6 separate regions of the Homo sapiens genome follow, and all the other regions are linked to region 4. The links are contacts of gene promoters, found by promoter capture Hi-C in human tissues and cell types (Jung and others, 2019). All regions are on one chromosome and are shown on one strand. The core of a region is centred on a gene start or on the middle of the fragment in contact, and the rest is flanking DNA. Distances in the headings are between cores, read along the strand shown.

Region 1 (2,726 bases), core at 151-2,650, 310 kb after region 4:
TATTTGGTTTTCTGTTCCTGCATTAGTTTGCTAAGAATAATGGCCTTCAGATCCATCCATGTTCCTGCAAGAAACATGATCTTATTCTTTTTTTATAAGCCTGGGCTTTTAAATGGTGCTCTGTCCCCTTCCTCACCCTCCCACCAGACCAGGCATCAGGCTGAGATGTCCCACACAACAGGTGCTCAAAGACTTGTTGAATGAACGAATGACCCTCTGTTTCCTTATCTGTCAACAGGAGGGAGAGGAAGATACATGGTCCTTTATTAATGCTTTTGGAAAACACAGGCATGTTATGCATCACGGCCTGATTAATGGACTGAGCTCCATGGATCAGGATATCAATATTGAGTCAGTTTCCTTCCTGTCTTGGGAAAGATCTGGTGACCCCTTTCCCACGGACCTTTGGTGCAGGCTGCGACCAATACAACCATGGTCCCTGTCCTCAGAGTTGTTTCACCCTTCTGAGCTCATTAGCGTGGTTACTGCCAGCCCGCTAAAATCCTCTTCAGCCGTTCCTCAGGGCTCCACCTTCAAATCCTGCTGTGGTAGCAGAATCTCTCGGAGACAGGAGGTCAGATATGTAAAACAGGGACAAAATCACAGGCCACTTGAGGGTGGATTAATGGCCAAGTTCACACAATCTATCAGCTCATCTCCACAGCGGTCTGAAGACTGCTGAAATGGCAAAGTCACCCCAGCTGGGCTATTTATCTCCAGTAGAGAAACCAGCATCTGAAAAGAACCCTCCTGGTGGCAGTTTTTTTTCCTCCTTTACTTTTTTCTTTTGCTACAATTAATCTTTTCATGGAATTTTGCTCTCTTCAATGAAGGTGATTTGTTAAAAGGGTAGCTAAACATGAACTAATTTGTATGCCTCTGATTTATAGTTTGTGAACAGATTCACGAATAGGAGGCCTCATGCTGTACTGGAGTCAACCAGATCTAACCAGATCTGGGTTCAAATCCCACACATGATGCTGCAGTAGCCTCAAATATTACTCAAGCTCTTCGGGGTGCAGTTCTCCACCTGAAAAGTGGGAGCAAAAATTCAACTAGGGTTGTCAGGCTGAATTGTGTGCCCTGTCCCGCCCCCCACCCACACCCCAACAAAATGACATGTTGAAGTCTTGACTTCCAATTCCTTAGAATGTGGCCTTATTTGGAAATAGGGTCATGGCAGATGGAATTTTGTTATGAGGCTAAACTGGAGTAGGCTGGGTCCCAATCCAGTATGACTGGTGTCCTTATAACAAGATGGCTATATGAAGACACAGACGCAAAGGAGATGGTCATGTGAAAATGGAAGCAGAGATTGGAGTAATGTGGCTGCAAGCAAGGGATTGCTGAGGATGGCTGGGAACACTGGAAACCAGGAGAAAGGCATGGAACAGAGTCTCCCTTTGAGCCTTTGAGAGTGCATGGCCCTGCCAACACCCTGACTTCAGATTTCTGGCCTCCAGAACTGTGAGAGAATAGATATCTGTTGTTCAAGCCACCCAGTGTGTGATACTTTGTTATAGCAGCCTGAGAAAGCTAATACAAAGATATTGTTAAGGGTGACCTAAGTAACATTAATTTGATGCATTGAGCCTATCACAGGGTCTGGCACAGAAGGAAGACACAAGAAATACTTTTTCTCCTTCTGGGGATTCTCTGAAACACTGGAAGGTGGTCCCTCCAGAAGACCACCCAGTGCTGCCTGGGTTTCCTTGTACCGGCGATGGAATTTCCTGCTCATATCTAGGCTTCCCCAGGGCAGAAGGGATGCACCACTCACTTTGGTCAAGGCATAAGGATCCTACATACTAAGCTCACCTATATGCTTTCCCAGAAAGCCAGTTGTGATACCCCATGACTGAATGGGGTCCCTCCTTTGGGGTCCCCCAAAACTTTTCTAAATTTTCTTAGTATTGTCCATTATTTTTTCAAATTAGAAATAATTTTGGCTTATTGTAGAAGAACTTTTAATAAAATGAAAAGGTGTTATAATGGGGAAAAGCACAGCTTCTTCCTCTGAGGAATATTCACAACCTGTGCTTGAATCATTCCTGTATCTCCACCTTCCAGCAAAGATCTGGGCATGTAGTAGGTGTTTGATAAATACAGAATGAATGAATGAATGAAAGAATAAATGAACGAATGAATGGAGTTAGAGATCTTATATTTTAAGAAAGAAATAGTATAAGTCCAGTGGTTAAGAATAAGGGCTTTGGACTCTGATCAAATCGGGCTGGAGTCAGCTCTGCCTCTTGGCATCTGTGTGATGTTGGGCAAATAATTGAACCTCTCTGAGCCTGTTTCTTCATCCGTGAAATGGCACTCAATATTTTTACCTGATATGAAGCTGAAAGGAAAATATGGACAAATAGTCCCTGACACAGAGCACCTCAGTAACCTGCAGCCATTGCATCTCCAGCTGGAGGAGATGGGAAGTGGGTGCTCCTGCTATCCTTCCAAAAAAATGCAGACTAAATCTTCCCATGGCCACCTTCACACCCAGCCCAAGCCTCTCTGTAATCTCATGGAAATAGAAGCAGCACAACCTTTGAAGTCAAAGTGGGTTCAGCTCCTGGCTCTGCCCCAGATTAGCTGTGTGACTTTAGGAAATTCACATTACCTCTATTCCTCCATTTTCTCCTGCAAAATTACAGTATAAATAATAATAGCTGGCATGTATTAAGGTAGTATGCAAGCTTATTATAATAATAATAGCTGGCATGTAC
Region 2 (2,700 bases), core at 12-2,511, 490 kb after region 4:
TGACAAAAACAAGCGATGAGGAAAGGATTCCCTATTTAATAAATGGTGCTGGGAAAACTGGCTAGCCATATGCAGAAAACAGAAACTAGACCCCTTCCTTACACCTTATACAAAAATTAACTCAAGATGGATTAAAGACTTAAATGTAAAACCCAAAATCATAAAAACCCTAGAAGAAAACCTAGGCAATACCATTCAGGACATAGGCATGGACAAAGACGTAATGACTAAAATACCAAAAGCAAAGGCAACAAAAGCCAAAATTGACAAATGGCATCTAATCAAACTAAAGAGCTTCTGCACAGCAAAAAAAAAAAAAAAAAAAAAAAAAAAAACCAAAAAAAGCGATCATCAGAGTGAACAGGCAACCTACAGAATGGGAGTAAATATTTGCAATCTACCCATTTGACAAAGGTCTAATATTCAGAATCTACAAGAACTTAAAGAAATTTACAAGAAAAAAACAAACAACCCCATGAAAAAGTGGGCAAAGGATATGAAGAGACTCTTCTCAAAAGAAGACATTTGTGCGGCCAAGAAACATGAAGAAAAGCTTGTTAAAAAAGTAAGGAAATGCTGGTGGGGAGAAGAAAGACCTGTCGGAGAGTATAGGACTCACTCAAGCTGTCCCACTGCCCCACCCCACCTCTGCCTCCGTATCCCTCTAGGTCTAGTGCGAATAAAATGAGCTCTCATGAAAATCTCTGGGGTGAGGGTGGGGTGGAACGCACCCAGCTGAGTAGCAGGACAAATGGGTCCCTGCCTGGCTCTGTCATTAACCTGATGGATGACCATGGATGAGTTCCTCCATGCCTCAGTTTCCCCTTTTGTAAAGTGAGGCTGCTGTGCTGAGTTATTGACCTCTGCTACTTGTCACTTCTCCCAAGGAGGAGGCTGAGTAACCAGAGGCTTTCTGAGCTCTGAGGAAGGACTGAGTGACCCTCCTCAGTGGATTTAGACACCCCTCCTAGAATCTCCATCACCTGCCTGCATTTGTTGATGTAGATTCACATTTTCTGAATGTTAGGTCAAGGGCTTTGCCCACTGTGCCTCTCCAAGCCAATCCCTCCAGCAAATGGTTCCAGGCAAACTGCACCCCTAACCGCCCCCATAAGAAGAAATTCACTAACATTAACACTCATTCCCCTGCTGAGGGCTTGGACCTCTGTCTGCTCCCAATTCTTCCATTCCACCCACAACTCATGACTTTTCATTCAACACATGCTTATTAAATTTGTTTTAGGCACCTTTTATGTGCTAAGAAGTATGCAAGGTCTTACGGCTGTGTGTCAACGGCAGTGTAGAGAGAGTTCTGTCACTAACCCCCACTGCTCTCTGCCACCACCAGTCCCGATGGGCAGAGCAGCAAGTGGAGGTGACGATCATTTATTGAGTACTTGCTATGTGCCAGGCATTTGACTTGTTCATTCTTCCACTGACTTTTCACAAGACTGCATAGATTCTATTATCATCCCCATTATGCAAATGAGGAAAGTAAGGCTCAGATAGGTGAAGCCTCTTCACTGAAAGTCACCCAGCTAAAAACAGTAGAAGGTGAATCTACCCAGTCCCAATTCCCTTGCTCTTGAGTATAAAACCACACTGGCTCCTATTACAGTAATAAATAAATAAATAAATAAATAAATAAATAAATAAATTTTTAAAAATCAGAATTGTGTAAGTTCATTTTTTCTCTCTGGTCCTACTGCACTTGGCACATAAGAACATTTATCACATTGGTCAGCAACTATTTATAAATCAACTTAAACTCCTGAAGAGTAAAGGTGGACACTTTTTCATCTCTGCATTCCTAGTATACAGTAGGTGCTCAAAACAAATTAAATGAATTGAATTGAACTGAATCTAATTGACTAGAGTCAATGGAATCAAATGGAATTTAATGGAACAAAATTAAATTAAACTGAATTGAACTCTGGCCACTAGGTAGATGGAGACTGAGATTACGGGTCAGAGAAACCACACAAAATGCTTTAACCCCTTGCATATTGGACCTGTATTAGAATGCTTTTGAGTCGCAAATGATAGAGACCCAACACAAACTAGCTTCCACAAAAATTAGAATATACTGGTTCATGACATAGGAAATCTCAAAGTAAGTTTGGGATTCAGATATAGCTGGATCCAGGAGTTCAAATTAGACTGTGTCAAGGAACTCTGTCTCTTGACCTTTCTTCTGTGTTTGGCTCGCATGATGTAATGGAAAACATAGCCATTGGCAACCGTGGAGTCACATGGTCCTGAAAAGACACGTCAGTAGGAGAATCATCTTTTCTAAGAGCTTCTGTAGAAAAATCCTAGAGAGAGCTCTGATTGCTGGCTTGGTTCATGATTGCACCATTGACCCAATCACTGTAGCCTGAAGAAGGAGATATTCTGATTAACTACACGTGGCTTCATGCCCACATTTGTGGCTGGCAAGAGGAAGCCAAGCTGCTTAAAATGGGCTCACCCCAGGGAAGAGGGGTTTGCACTCCAGGAGAAGAGGGCTGGGAAGTTTCCAGCAGGAACACATCTCAAATCTCCACACTGAAGACTTTCCCCAGACAGGTGTGGGTGAGCTCACTAAAAGCCCCTTTCCAGTAGTCACTTGAAATATAAACTCCACGTTTTCCTAGAGCTTGCCCAGTCAATCTGTCTTTGGCCACTTCCCTCCATCCAGGAATGTCAATACCTTGTTAA
Region 3 (2,700 bases), core at 168-2,667, 330 kb after region 4:
GGCTAGAGGGAGGGTGAGTAGGTAGAGTATAGGATTTTTAGGACAGTGAAACTGCTCCGTATGATACTATAATGGTGGACACATGTCATTATACATTTGTCCAAACCTACAGAAGGTACAACACCAAGAGTGAGCCCTAATGGACACTGCAGACTTGAGTGATAATGATGTGTCAGTGTAGGTTCATCAACTGTAACAAAGGGACCACTCTGGTGCGGGATGTTGATGGAGGGGGAGGCTGTTGGAGGAGGGTCTGGGGTTATATGGGAACTTTCTGTACTTGCCGCTCAATTTTGCTATGAATCTAAAATGGCTTTTTAAAAGTCTATTTAAAAAGGGGGGACAATAATTTATTTGAAAAGGCAGAGACCCACTGAGGTACATGTCAACGAAATATCCAAACTGTGGGCTCTGGGGAAGGGGCCATGTTGCAGGAAGGGTCAGGGGATTGGAGAGAGATGAAGGGGTGAGCTGACAGTCTCCCTTGTACAGTGGTTTGATGAAAGGGACCCAAGGTGCAGGTCACCCAGTCCACTGGCCACCCCATGAGGCAGCTGGCAGCCCTTCTCCAAGTGCAGATCACTTTCTTCCCCAAGAGGGACTTCTGAAGGGACTTCTAAATCCCTATCATTAAGCCATCTGGAGTCATCCTTCTCCTCCAGGAGCTGCTGTGTCTTGGGTCAATTAGTGCACATTTGCATAGAGTTCCTTAATAGGCTGGGGGAGATAATGGACGGTTCTGCTGGTTCTGGGCAGAGTGTTTACCCAAGAGGCAGACCTACAGGGAATGGCAGAGAACAGGGAGGAAGGCAGGAAGGAGGAGATAGGATGGACTAGGATAGGATGAAAGGGAATGGCGTAGAGTAAGCTATCATTGACTCACATACAGTAAGGAGAAATGTTATCTTGTGAACCTTTGCCTCGGTTGTGTGTGCGCATCACAATGTCAAATACATTTCTCACTGTGGGGTCACTGAAATAATTGGAAAGTCCTAGCATGGAGAATAGGAGGAAGCTGTGTGTGGTAGGGTGGTTCCCAAAGGCCCCTCTCAGAAGGCATTTGAGCTGAGATCTGCAAAATGACAAGGAGACAGTCATGGGAGGATCTGGGGCAAGAATGTCCCAGGCAGCAGGAGACACCATGCAGAGACTGGGAGGTGGAAAAAGGTCAGTGGGGGTCCATCCCACAAGGGCCTAGAGTTTCTGCTCAGGACTGTTCTTGAACTGCAGTGTGACCGGAGCCCATTTCCTAAATAATACATTGAGGACATTCCTGTCCCAGTGGGATGTGACCACTTCTCAGAGGCTGAGCTGAAAAATGCTTGTTGATTGCTGGAGCTTAGAAAGGTCCAAGGTCCAGGTGCTTGGCAAGGCTTGTGGGAGGATTTAGAATTTCTTTCTGGCTGGGGCTCAGGGAAATGTGGCCCTCAAAGCCTAAAATATTTACCTTCTAGCCTTTTACAGAAAGTATTTGCTGACCCTTAATTTTCATCAGCAATGGAAACTGATACAGAGTTTATGGGGGAAGGGGCTTAGGACCACTGAAGGAGTTCACCCTGTCCCTCTTCAGAGCTCAAAGGCCACTCTCAGGTCACTCAGCTTCTTCCTTACAGCAAGTGACAGAGCTACAAGAAAGCCTGGAGATCCAACACCTAGCGAAACAGCCTTCCTTTACATAAGGGGAAACTGAGGCTTGGAGAAACTTGAATGAAATAACCTCTGTCCATATAAAATGTCTCGCATAGACCTGGACCCAAGTAAGTGCTCAATACTTTTTAGCTATTACCAAGATTATGATTATGATACCATAGAATCCTAGAGTTCAAAGGGCCCTTAGACACCAGCTAGTTCAAGTCTGATGTTTTACAGATGAGGAACCCGGGGGCTCAGAGAGGCTGGAGGAGTGGTCCAGAGTCACACAGCCAGGCCAGGGCTGAGCTGGTTCCTGCCCTGCAGGTTTCTTCCCAGAGCACACGCTGCTCCCTGGCAGCCCCCATTGCTCCCAGCCGCAAACACGAGCAAATTGCCATTTGCTGGTTCCACACTGACCACGGTGGATTGAACTCTAATTTAGGAACGGTGACAGCACCTATTAGCAACCCTTCCCCAAAGAGGAACTTTCCACCAGGAGTGAAAAATAACTGCCATCCCCACCCCCAAATCACCCAAGCCCAATCTTTCTGTCCAAGGCAGTGTGTGTGTGTTTGGGGGGTGGTGGTGGAGAGGTGGTCTCTGTGCTCCCCAGCCCACCTCTACAGGTTCAAATTCTCTTCCCCTGTCCCGGAGAACCTTGTGCCCTTGGAGGGGTTGCCAGCACCTACTGCCAGCTCTGAGCAGGACTGAGAGGTGGGCTCACAGCCATCAAAGCAGGAGGGAGGACTGTTCATAACCTCCAGGTCAGCTTCCTCACAGACATATGGGGTAACTGAGGCCTAAAGGGGAGGTGGAGGGTGACTCTACCCAGACCCAGTTTTCCTGCATCCCAGCCTTCAGCCTTGGCACCCTCCTGAGAAAGAAGAAAAATGGATAAACACCTTTTGTTGCACAATTACTATGTGCCAGGCCCTTCCATGTACCCTGTGCCATTGCCTCTCCCCAGGGGCTCTGCTTGGTAGGTTGGGTTTAATCTCACTTTACAGATGAGACAACCAAGGCCTGGAGAGGTCAGTCAACTTGCCAAAGGGCAGAGCTGGTGAGTGG
Region 4 (2,700 bases), core at 27-2,526:
CCCTTGCCGAAAGTCTCGCCGGGAGCAAGTGACAGCCTTAGGACTTGAACTCAGGAACCCCACGGCTCTAAAGTGTCCCCCCTTCCCATATATCCCTGTGGCTTCTGACCACAAACACTGGATTTGTGGACATATGTCAAACATTTGGGACATAAATGACTGACAGACACCCAGGCAGATCAGCCACAGCAGTTCTGACGCCCAATCTTTGATAAGCACAATTGTTGGGTGGCCTCATTTATTGCCCTCACCCTGATATTCAGCCACAGCTCCCACAGTGCCCTTCCCCTCTCTGGCCTTCCATTTCTGGCCTGTCCAGAAGGGACCCCATCAAGAAGATGAGCAGTTCGAGCATCTCGAAAGGAACTCAGGCTGTGGGCCACAGTGCTTGGCCTCAGTGACAACATGGCTTGTATGTGCTTGGGGCTGGCAGTGGGAGTGGAGGTGGGGCCAGGCATGCAAACACTATGCTAACAATAAGCACTTATTAAGCAACTATGGTGTCCTAGGTGCTGAGCAGTGTACTGGCCACGCATTGCCTCGTTTCACCCTCATGCCACCCTATGAAGGAAGAGCTACCGCTAGCTCCATTTTACAGACAAGGGAAACCAAGACACAGAGAGCATAAGTTAAATTCCAGAAGGCCCACAGGAGGTAAACAGAGGCATCCGGAAGGAAACCCCAGGGCCTCTGAACCCGGTCCCCAGGTCTCGATTTCTACCTTATTACTAAGCAGGGCCTGTGCACCTGCTCTGGGCTGGTCCTGACCCGGGAATGACTGATGGATCACGGGGTTCTGAGTCTCATGGGGATCCTGGCCCATTGCCACAGAACATGTGAAATGGCTTGGGGTGCGCTTTAATAGGGGTGCGCCTGGAGTGCTGCGCGGGTCCAGGGGTCTGGGCGGGCTTCCCGAGGGGACAGGCTCCTGGGCGGGGCGGTACAGGAAAGGGGGCAGTTCGCCGGTGCCAGGGGTGTGTGCAGGGAAGGAGTGCGTTCTGGGAGGCGCGAATCTCTCCCCCACACTTCCCTAGAAAGGGAGAACTGAGGCCCGGAGAGGGGAGGGGACCGGTCTGAGTCCCCTCCAAGACTGCAGAGCCTCCCTTCCCGAACCCCGCCCAGGGCTCGCGGCCCCGTCGCACCCTTCCCGGCTTCATCCTCTCGAGCCCCTAGGGCTTTTCCCCTTCTCACCGCGCGCAGCTGTCAGAACCCCAACCGCCTTCCCCGCGCTCCCAGCTCCGGGCCGCCGGCTCCCGGGTCCTCCTTCTCCGCCGGCCTCTGGCCCCGCCCCCGGCGACTTGCCATTGAACCGCCCGCAGCCCTCGTCGCGGCGGATTGGCTTTCCCCACTTGTCCTTCCCTCGCATTTCCGGGTTCCCGCGTCCGCGTCGGCTTCCCCGGGAAAGACGCGCCGTGGGCCACTCCCATTGGTTGTTGCTTGCGTTTGTCTCGTTCACGTAGCAGCCAATAAGCAGCGGGAGGGGCGGGGCCTAGGCCACAGGCAGGAGGAGCAGGTGCTGGAAACCCGATGGGCGTGCGGATTTGGGGCACACTAGGTGGCGGGCCCGGAAACTGGAAGTTCCACGGCGGTCTTTTCCTCGGGTCTCTTCGTCCCGGAGCCGCTGTCGTGTGCCTCATTTTTCCCGGTTGTGAAATGAAGATGCTGATGCTTTTCACCCCTTCACCCGGTTAGCCTGCTTGACTGCGCAGCCCCTGTTCTTAGCCTCCACCCCATGCTGCTGAGTTTGCCGCCTTCTTCTTCTTTACTCTTTTCCTCTCTGTGTCTTTTCCTCCCTGACTTAAACAACTTTTTTTTTTCTTATAAAATACAGGGTCTCGTTGTGTCGCCCAGGCTGGAGTGCGGTGGAGCAATTGCAGCTCACTGCAGCCTCCACCTCCTGGGCTCAAGCAATCCTCCCATCTCAGCCTCCCGAGTAGCTGGGACTACAGGTGCATGCCACCATGCCCGGCGAATTTTCTTTTCTTTTCTTTTCTTTCTTTCTTTCTTTTTTTTTCTCTCTCTCTGTCTTGCTTTCTTTCTTTTTTTTTGAGACGGAATCGCACTCTGTTGCCCAGGCTGGAGGGAAGTGGCACGATCTTGGCCCACTGCAACCTCCGCCTCCCAGGTTGAAGCGATTCTCCTGCCTCAGCCTCCCGAGTAGCTGGGATTACAGGCGCGCATCACCACGCCCGCCTAATTTGTGTATTTTTAGTAGAGATGGGGTTTCACCACGTTGGCCAGGCTGGTCTCGAACTCCTGACCTCAGAAGATTCGCCTGCCTCGGCCTCCCAAAGTGCTGGGATTACAGGCGTGAGCCATCGCGCCCGACCTATTTCTGATTTTTTATTTTCTTTAGAGACCGGGTCTCACTATGTCGCCCGGGCTGGTCTCGAACTCTTGACCTTAAGCTCTCCCTCCATCTCGGCTTCCCAAAGCGCTAAGATTACAGGCGCAAGCCACCCCCTCGGTTCTCCCTGACTTTTTAATTTGTATCCTCTCCAGAAGGACCTGGCTAGTTCTTTTGGCTTCCCAGAGAGAAATTTTTTCCTTGAAGCAGAGAATGGAAACCTCCATCTTAATCCACAAATACTGAAATTAAACATCTAGGGAGGTGCCCCAGAAACGCTAAGCATTTAGAAGTTAGCAGTTCAGATTCTGGGGAGTCAAAGAGACCTGAGCTCAAATTCAGACTTTGCCATT
Region 5 (2,700 bases), core at 38-2,537, 350 kb after region 4:
CCCTTTGTCCCCACCTTCTCCTACATCACATCTCTGAAACCCATCAGGTCAGATGAGGCTTTCCTGGACTGGGATGTGAGGAGTTATTGGGCCTCCTTGTCTCCTAAGCATTGTGACCCACACAATGTGGAGATGTGGGTAGATCTGTTGGAGAGAAAGCTGTTGCGGGCAAGGAAGGCATTCCTCAAGTTAGATTCAGGCTGGAGACTGGTGTTGTCCACTGAAGCGAAACATTCACATACCTAGGACCCTGCAATTCCACTCCTGGGTATACACCTACAAGAAATGAGTGCTTAAATCTCCCACAAGATTTGTACAAGAATGTCCCTAGCACCTCTGTTCATTAGGGTCCCAAACTGCAGAAAATCAGCCATGTGTCCTTCAAAAGGAGAAAGGATTAAAAATTGAATGAACAAGAAAGAAACCGCTGATATATGTGACATCGTGAATAAATCTCACGGATTTATAAAAATAACATCAAGCAAAGGAAGCCAGGCACAAAAGAAAAGACAGTACAAGATCCCATTCATATGAAGTTCAAGGACAGGCAAATTAATCTCTGGTGACAGGGGTATCAATTAGGAAGAAATGCAAAGAAACCTCTCTGGAGTGATAAGAATGGTCTGTATCTTGACCTTGGCAATGGTTCCATGGCTCTATAAGTTTGTAAAAATTTATTGATTTTGTACTTTACAGTATGTAAGGTATACCATTGTAGGACGTTTTCAAACATCCCCCTCTCTGAAAAAAAAAAAAAAAAAAAAAAAGGATTTAAGATTAAACAACAGTATAAATAAGTGAAGGGCTACAGGTCTAGTGGTAATGCCAACCACTCTGTCATGGGTCCTGGGCTGTAGAGAAGACAGTGACCCACTGGGATGTCAAAGGCAAGCCATCACTGATGCCACTATGTTTCACTCATTTATTCACTACCTTTCCAGGCATTCACTTATTCTTTTAGTATCTTTCCTTAATTTTTTTTATCCATGCTTAGTATATTAGTTTCCTGTGGCTGCAGTAACATATGACCACAAACTTACTAGCTTAAAAAAACATAAGTTCATTCTATTCAGTTCTGAAAATCAGAAGTGTAAAATCAAGATGTCTGCAGGGCTGGTTCCTGCTGGAGGCTTCAGGGAGAATCTGCTTCCTTGCTTTTTCAGCTTCTAGAAGCTGCCTGCATGCCTTGGCTCCTGGCCCCTCCCCTTCCTGCCTGCATTCCATCACTCCAACGTCTTCTATCATCGCATCTCCTGCTACTGACTCGGATCTTCCCTGCCTCCCTCTTATGAAGATCCTTGCGATGACAGTGGGACCACTTGGAGAATCCAGGATAATATCCCATCTCAAGATTCTTAACTCATTTACGTCTGCCAAGTACCTCTTACCATGCTTAAGGTACCATATTTGCAGGTTCCAGGGATTTGAACGTGGACAGGTTTGGTGGGGCAGAGGATGATTATTCAACCCACCACACTTAGAAAGAAGAATGGTATAGACTTTTTCTTTCTTTTTTAATTTTAATTTTTATTTTTTTTGAGACAAAGTCTTGCTCTGTCACCCAGGCTGGAGTGCAGTGGTGCAATCTCTGCTCACTGCAAGCTCCGCCTCCCAGGTTCATGCCATTCTCCAGCCTCAGCCTCCCAAGAAGCTGGGACTACAGGTGCCCGCCACCACGCCCAGCTAATTTTTTGTATTTTTAGTAGAGACGGGATTTCACCATGCTAGCCAGGAGGATGGTATAGACTTTTTACGAGCTCAGACTTGGAATCAGATCAGACCCATCTGGATTCAAATACTACTTATTAGTGGTATCACTTAGCTGATGACCTACCACTTATTAGCTTCATGTCCATAGGAATACGATTCAGCCTCTCTTGAAGCCCCAGTTTTCCTGCCTATACAATGAGGCATCACTCCACTTCCTCCAGGTTTTTGTGAGGAGTAAGTGAAGTGATGTTTAAGGCAGTTAACACAGAGGCTGGCACAAGATGCAGGCTCAACACACAGCCTGTGCATGTAGTGATATCTTATGAATGAATGATATTGATGGAAACAGCCATTTACCAAGTCCAGGGTACTTTGCTAACCAGGTCTGTCAGACTCCAGAATCCATCAGAAACTGTTCTGGAAGGGCCTCCAGGTCTGAGCAGAGGTCATTTGGAGAGAGAAAAGAGAAGGCCTTACTCCCAGCCCCTCCAGAAAATGGAGGAAATGCATTCTCCAGGATGCTCAGAAGAGGGTCTGAGCCCTGTTCCTCTCCCCAGGAGGGAATAAACATCCAAGCTTTTCTGGTGGCTGCCTGTCATTTATCAGAGATGGAATTTCCTTGGCACTTTGGGAAAAATAGATGCCAAGATGCAGAAAGAAATAGATTTTTTTCTTTCCCCCAGAAGTAGAACTTGGCTCATACATGTGTGGGGCACATTGATACAAATGGAATGAGAAAGCTCTGGGAGCCCTGGGGACTGAGGGTGTTGCTTGCATCTGAGTGTGAAATGGGTTGGGGGGCTGGGGATCCCCCAGCCCATTTTCCAAGGCATATGTGTTTGATTATTCCACCCGTGAGTCTGAAGGGGGCTTGGTGACTCCTCCCTATGAACAGGCAGGATTCCAAGAGCTTCCGGAGAGATGTGAGCCTGCAAGGAAGATGCTGAAGAAGCCCAAAGGAGGAAATGAGAACAACGTGGCCAACGTTGT
Region 6 (2,700 bases), core at 77-2,576, 370 kb after region 4:
AAAAAAATAGAGAGAGAGAGAGAGAAGGAAGGAGAAAGGAAGGAAAAGAGAGAGGTGACCAGAAAGAGAGACCTGTAAGATGTCAAGCTCCTGGATCCAGCCAAGCCTGAAGCTAGGTTGCTAGTTTTATAAGCCAATAAATTTCATTTTATGCCTGAGAATAAAAGAGTGTAAGGATGTTTAAGTTGGGTTTTCTGTCACCTACAACCAACAGAATCCAGATGAATGCAAACACTATCATTATTTCTATTTTACTCATGTATATGAGGAATCAGAGGCCAAGGAGATTGAAGTAAATTATCCAAGGCCACACAACTGTGAACTGGAGCACTTGTACTTGAGCGAGATCTGCCTTACACCTGAAGCTGCTGGGTTAGAAATCTTGGTCTCTTATAGGGCTGTCCCTCTGCCTCCAGGAGCTGAGGGTTGGAGATTTTAGAAATAGCATGTGTTCAGAGCTGCAGGTACCTGTGGTGTTTTGAGGAGGCCAGGGAGGGAGTAGAGGAGGCTACATAAAAATGAAATACATAATTGTTATTTAAATCAGTTCAGATGCCATAAGAAGAAAAATCAAAGCTTTCTGTGGCATTTACCCAGTGCCATTTTTAATTCTACCTTATCAAAACACAGCTGGGATTAGTTTTTCAAAAAGGAAAAGCTCCTTTAATAAAAAAATAAAAATGTTCTAATAAAAGTTAAAATAGCCCACAGGCCCATCAGGTGACAAAGGAAGGGAGACGGGGGCATTTTAGCAACTTAAAGCAGATTAAGAAACTAATTTGTTGACTCTTTTCTCCAAAGCTCACCTCTCCCTGGAAGGCTGTGTGTTTTGCATAATGAAGCTGAAATCACCCTGTTCTCTCTGCTCTTTGCAGGGATTTCAATAGGCTCCCATCTCAAGTTGACGGGGACAGCTTGGAGGCCTTTCTTCTTCTTGCTCTGGCCAGGGTTTAATGGAATCATTCAACTCCACTTTACTTAAACTCTTTACAAGGTTTCCCACTGCTGGGAGGGGCTCACAAGGCCCTGAGGACATTCCAGTTTCATCATATACCAGCTCCCCGACCCCAAAAGCAGGAACCTGTGACTATGAGACATTTACCTAGTAAAAGAAACTTTGCAGATGTGACTAAGTGGAGGATTTTGGGATGGAGAGATTATCCTGGATTACTCAAATAGGCCCAATGTCATTACCAGGGTCCTGATGGAGAGTCGCAGCCAGAGACAAAGATGTGATGACGGAAGCAGACATCAGAGTGGCTTGGGGCTATGAACCAAGGAATATGGGCAGCCCTCCAATGCTGGAAAAGGTAAGAGAGTGGATTCTCCCCCTCGAACCTCCAAAAGGAACCCAGCCCTGCTGACCCATTTTAGACTTCAAACCTCCAGAACTGGCAGATAGTAAATTTGTATTGTTTAGAACCGGGGATGGTGGTGGCCATCTGTAGTCCCAGCTACTCAGGAGGCCAAGGCAGGAGCATCGCTTGAGTCCAGGAGTTCGGGACCAGCCTAGGCAATATAGTGAGACTCTATCTCTTCAAAAATTTTTTAAAAATCACAAAAACAAACAAACAAAAAAGAACAAAAAGTTTTTAAAAACTAGCTGGGTGTGATGGCACTTGCCTGTAAGTCTCAGCTACTTGGGAGACTAAGGTGGAAGGATCACCTGAGCCCAGGAATTCAAGGCTGCAGTGAGCTATGATCGTGTCACTTGCATTCCAGCCTGGGTGATACAGACTCCATCTCTAAAAAATAAAGAAACAAGTAAAGAAAGAAAGAAAAGAAAAGAATGTAAAGATTGTCTTGCTCAAGCCACTACCTTTATGGACATTGTTTCCCGTAGCCATAGGGAACTCATCCGCTCACGCTGAAAAGCAGCATGGGAGCGAAGGGGCCGCAGGACCTGTCATGGATCAGGATGTGAAAGGCCCACGTTCTAGTCCCAGCTCTGCCACGATGCCCAGGGGGTGGGAGGGCTGGCCGGCTGCTCCCTGGGACCCCTTCCAGAGCTGGCAGCCTTGCTCTGCTGAAGTTCACACTCACAGGGACAGTGATCACAGCAGCCCAAGGCTTCAGGACTGTAGCAGGGGCTGGCAGGGGGTCAGGGGGCAGGAAAGGCCCCTGGCTGGGGGATCATGAGGGGTGAGGGCAGAAGATCTGGGCGGTCCAGGGGAGAAGACACTGACACCTCAATCCCCAGCACTTGAGGAACAAGCTGTGTGGGCCCCCAGCTACTACTACCTGGTTCTTTTTGAGTGACACACAGGTTTACCTCTCATGATCAGCCAGTGCCCAAAATCAGGCGGACAGACAGAGCAGCAGGTTGCCGTAAAAGCTATGCCAGGATGGATTATGGGGAGAGGCCCTGATGACCAGAGAATCCCCATGCCTCTTCACTCTGCTCATAGACAGTAAGGAGGTGCCTCACCACTCTATGATGTAGCTCACCTCTGACAAGACCTGAAATAAAAGCCACCCAATCACAATCATTATGTTACTAACTGGCACTTATGTAACCTGTACCATATGCTAGGCGCCATTTTAGGTCATTGAATCTTCACTCAGCCCTTCCAGTTTTGTATCTCAGTTTTAAAACGAGGAAACGGAGGCGAAGAGTGGTTAACTCACAGCCCAAGGCCACTCAGCTGAGAAGCAGCAGAGCTAGGATTGAAACCCAGGCAGGCTGACCCTGGGCGTGAC

Evidence for each region. The method cuts DNA at HindIII sites, captures the fragments that hold promoters and counts their contacts. A contact is called where the count stands out against the background at its distance.
Region 1: a fragment that was not itself captured here is called in contact with the fragment with the promoter of FICD in region 4 in 2 of the 25 tissues and cell types used here (mesendoderm cells and thymus).
Region 2: a fragment that was not itself captured here is called in contact with the fragment with the promoter of FICD in region 4 in 2 of the 25 tissues and cell types used here (H1 embryonic stem cells and aorta).
Region 3: a contact is called between a fragment that was not itself captured here and the fragment with the promoter of FICD in region 4, in 1 of the 25 tissues and cell types used here (dorsolateral prefrontal cortex).
Region 5: a fragment that was not itself captured here is called in contact with the fragment with the promoter of FICD in region 4 in 1 of the 25 tissues and cell types used here (H1 embryonic stem cells).
Region 6: a contact is called between a fragment that was not itself captured here and the fragment with the promoter of FICD in region 4, in 3 of the 25 tissues and cell types used here (H1 embryonic stem cells, dorsolateral prefrontal cortex and lymphoblastoid cells).

What each region holds. Positions count from the first base shown.
Region 1 is chr12:108,199,891-108,202,616 of GRCh38, reverse strand. All of the region lies in intron 2 of WSCD2 (WSC domain containing 2), which reads right to left. The region is part of intron 2 of LOC124903077 (a long non-coding RNA gene); the gene reads left to right. Among named protein-coding and RNA genes, the nearest start is that of WSCD2, 72 kb to the right of the region's middle. The HindIII fragment of the contact is 3,550 bases long and covers 1-2,726 here.
Region 2 is chr12:108,026,017-108,028,716 of GRCh38, reverse strand. No RefSeq gene overlaps it. Among named protein-coding and RNA genes, the nearest start is that of WSCD2, 100 kb to the left of the region's middle. The HindIII fragment of the contact is 5,655 bases long and covers 1-2,700 here.
Region 3 is chr12:108,183,828-108,186,527 of GRCh38, reverse strand. The region is part of intron 1 of WSCD2 (WSC domain containing 2); the gene reads right to left. LOC105369965 (a long non-coding RNA gene) reads left to right here. Exons shown (of 3, transcript XR_001749312.2): 2 at 1,614-1,757; 3 at 1,870-1,959. Among named protein-coding and RNA genes, the nearest start is that of WSCD2, 56 kb to the right of the region's middle. The HindIII fragment of the contact is 8,455 bases long and covers 1-2,700 here.
Region 4 is chr12:108,513,853-108,516,552 of GRCh38, reverse strand. It overlaps FICD (FIC domain protein adenylyltransferase), which reads right to left and starts at 1,276. Exons shown (of 3, transcript NM_007076.3): 1 at 1,192-1,276. RefSeq lists an enhancer at 1,745-1,804. The HindIII fragment of the contact is 17,239 bases long and covers 1-2,700 here.
Region 5 is chr12:108,162,207-108,164,906 of GRCh38, reverse strand. All of the region lies in intron 1 of WSCD2 (WSC domain containing 2), which reads right to left. Among named protein-coding and RNA genes, the nearest start is that of WSCD2, 34 kb to the right of the region's middle. The HindIII fragment of the contact is 8,834 bases long and covers 1-2,700 here.
Region 6 is chr12:108,140,121-108,142,820 of GRCh38, reverse strand. All of the region lies in intron 1 of WSCD2 (WSC domain containing 2), which reads right to left. Among named protein-coding and RNA genes, the nearest start is that of WSCD2, 12 kb to the right of the region's middle. The HindIII fragment of the contact is 3,933 bases long and covers 1-2,700 here.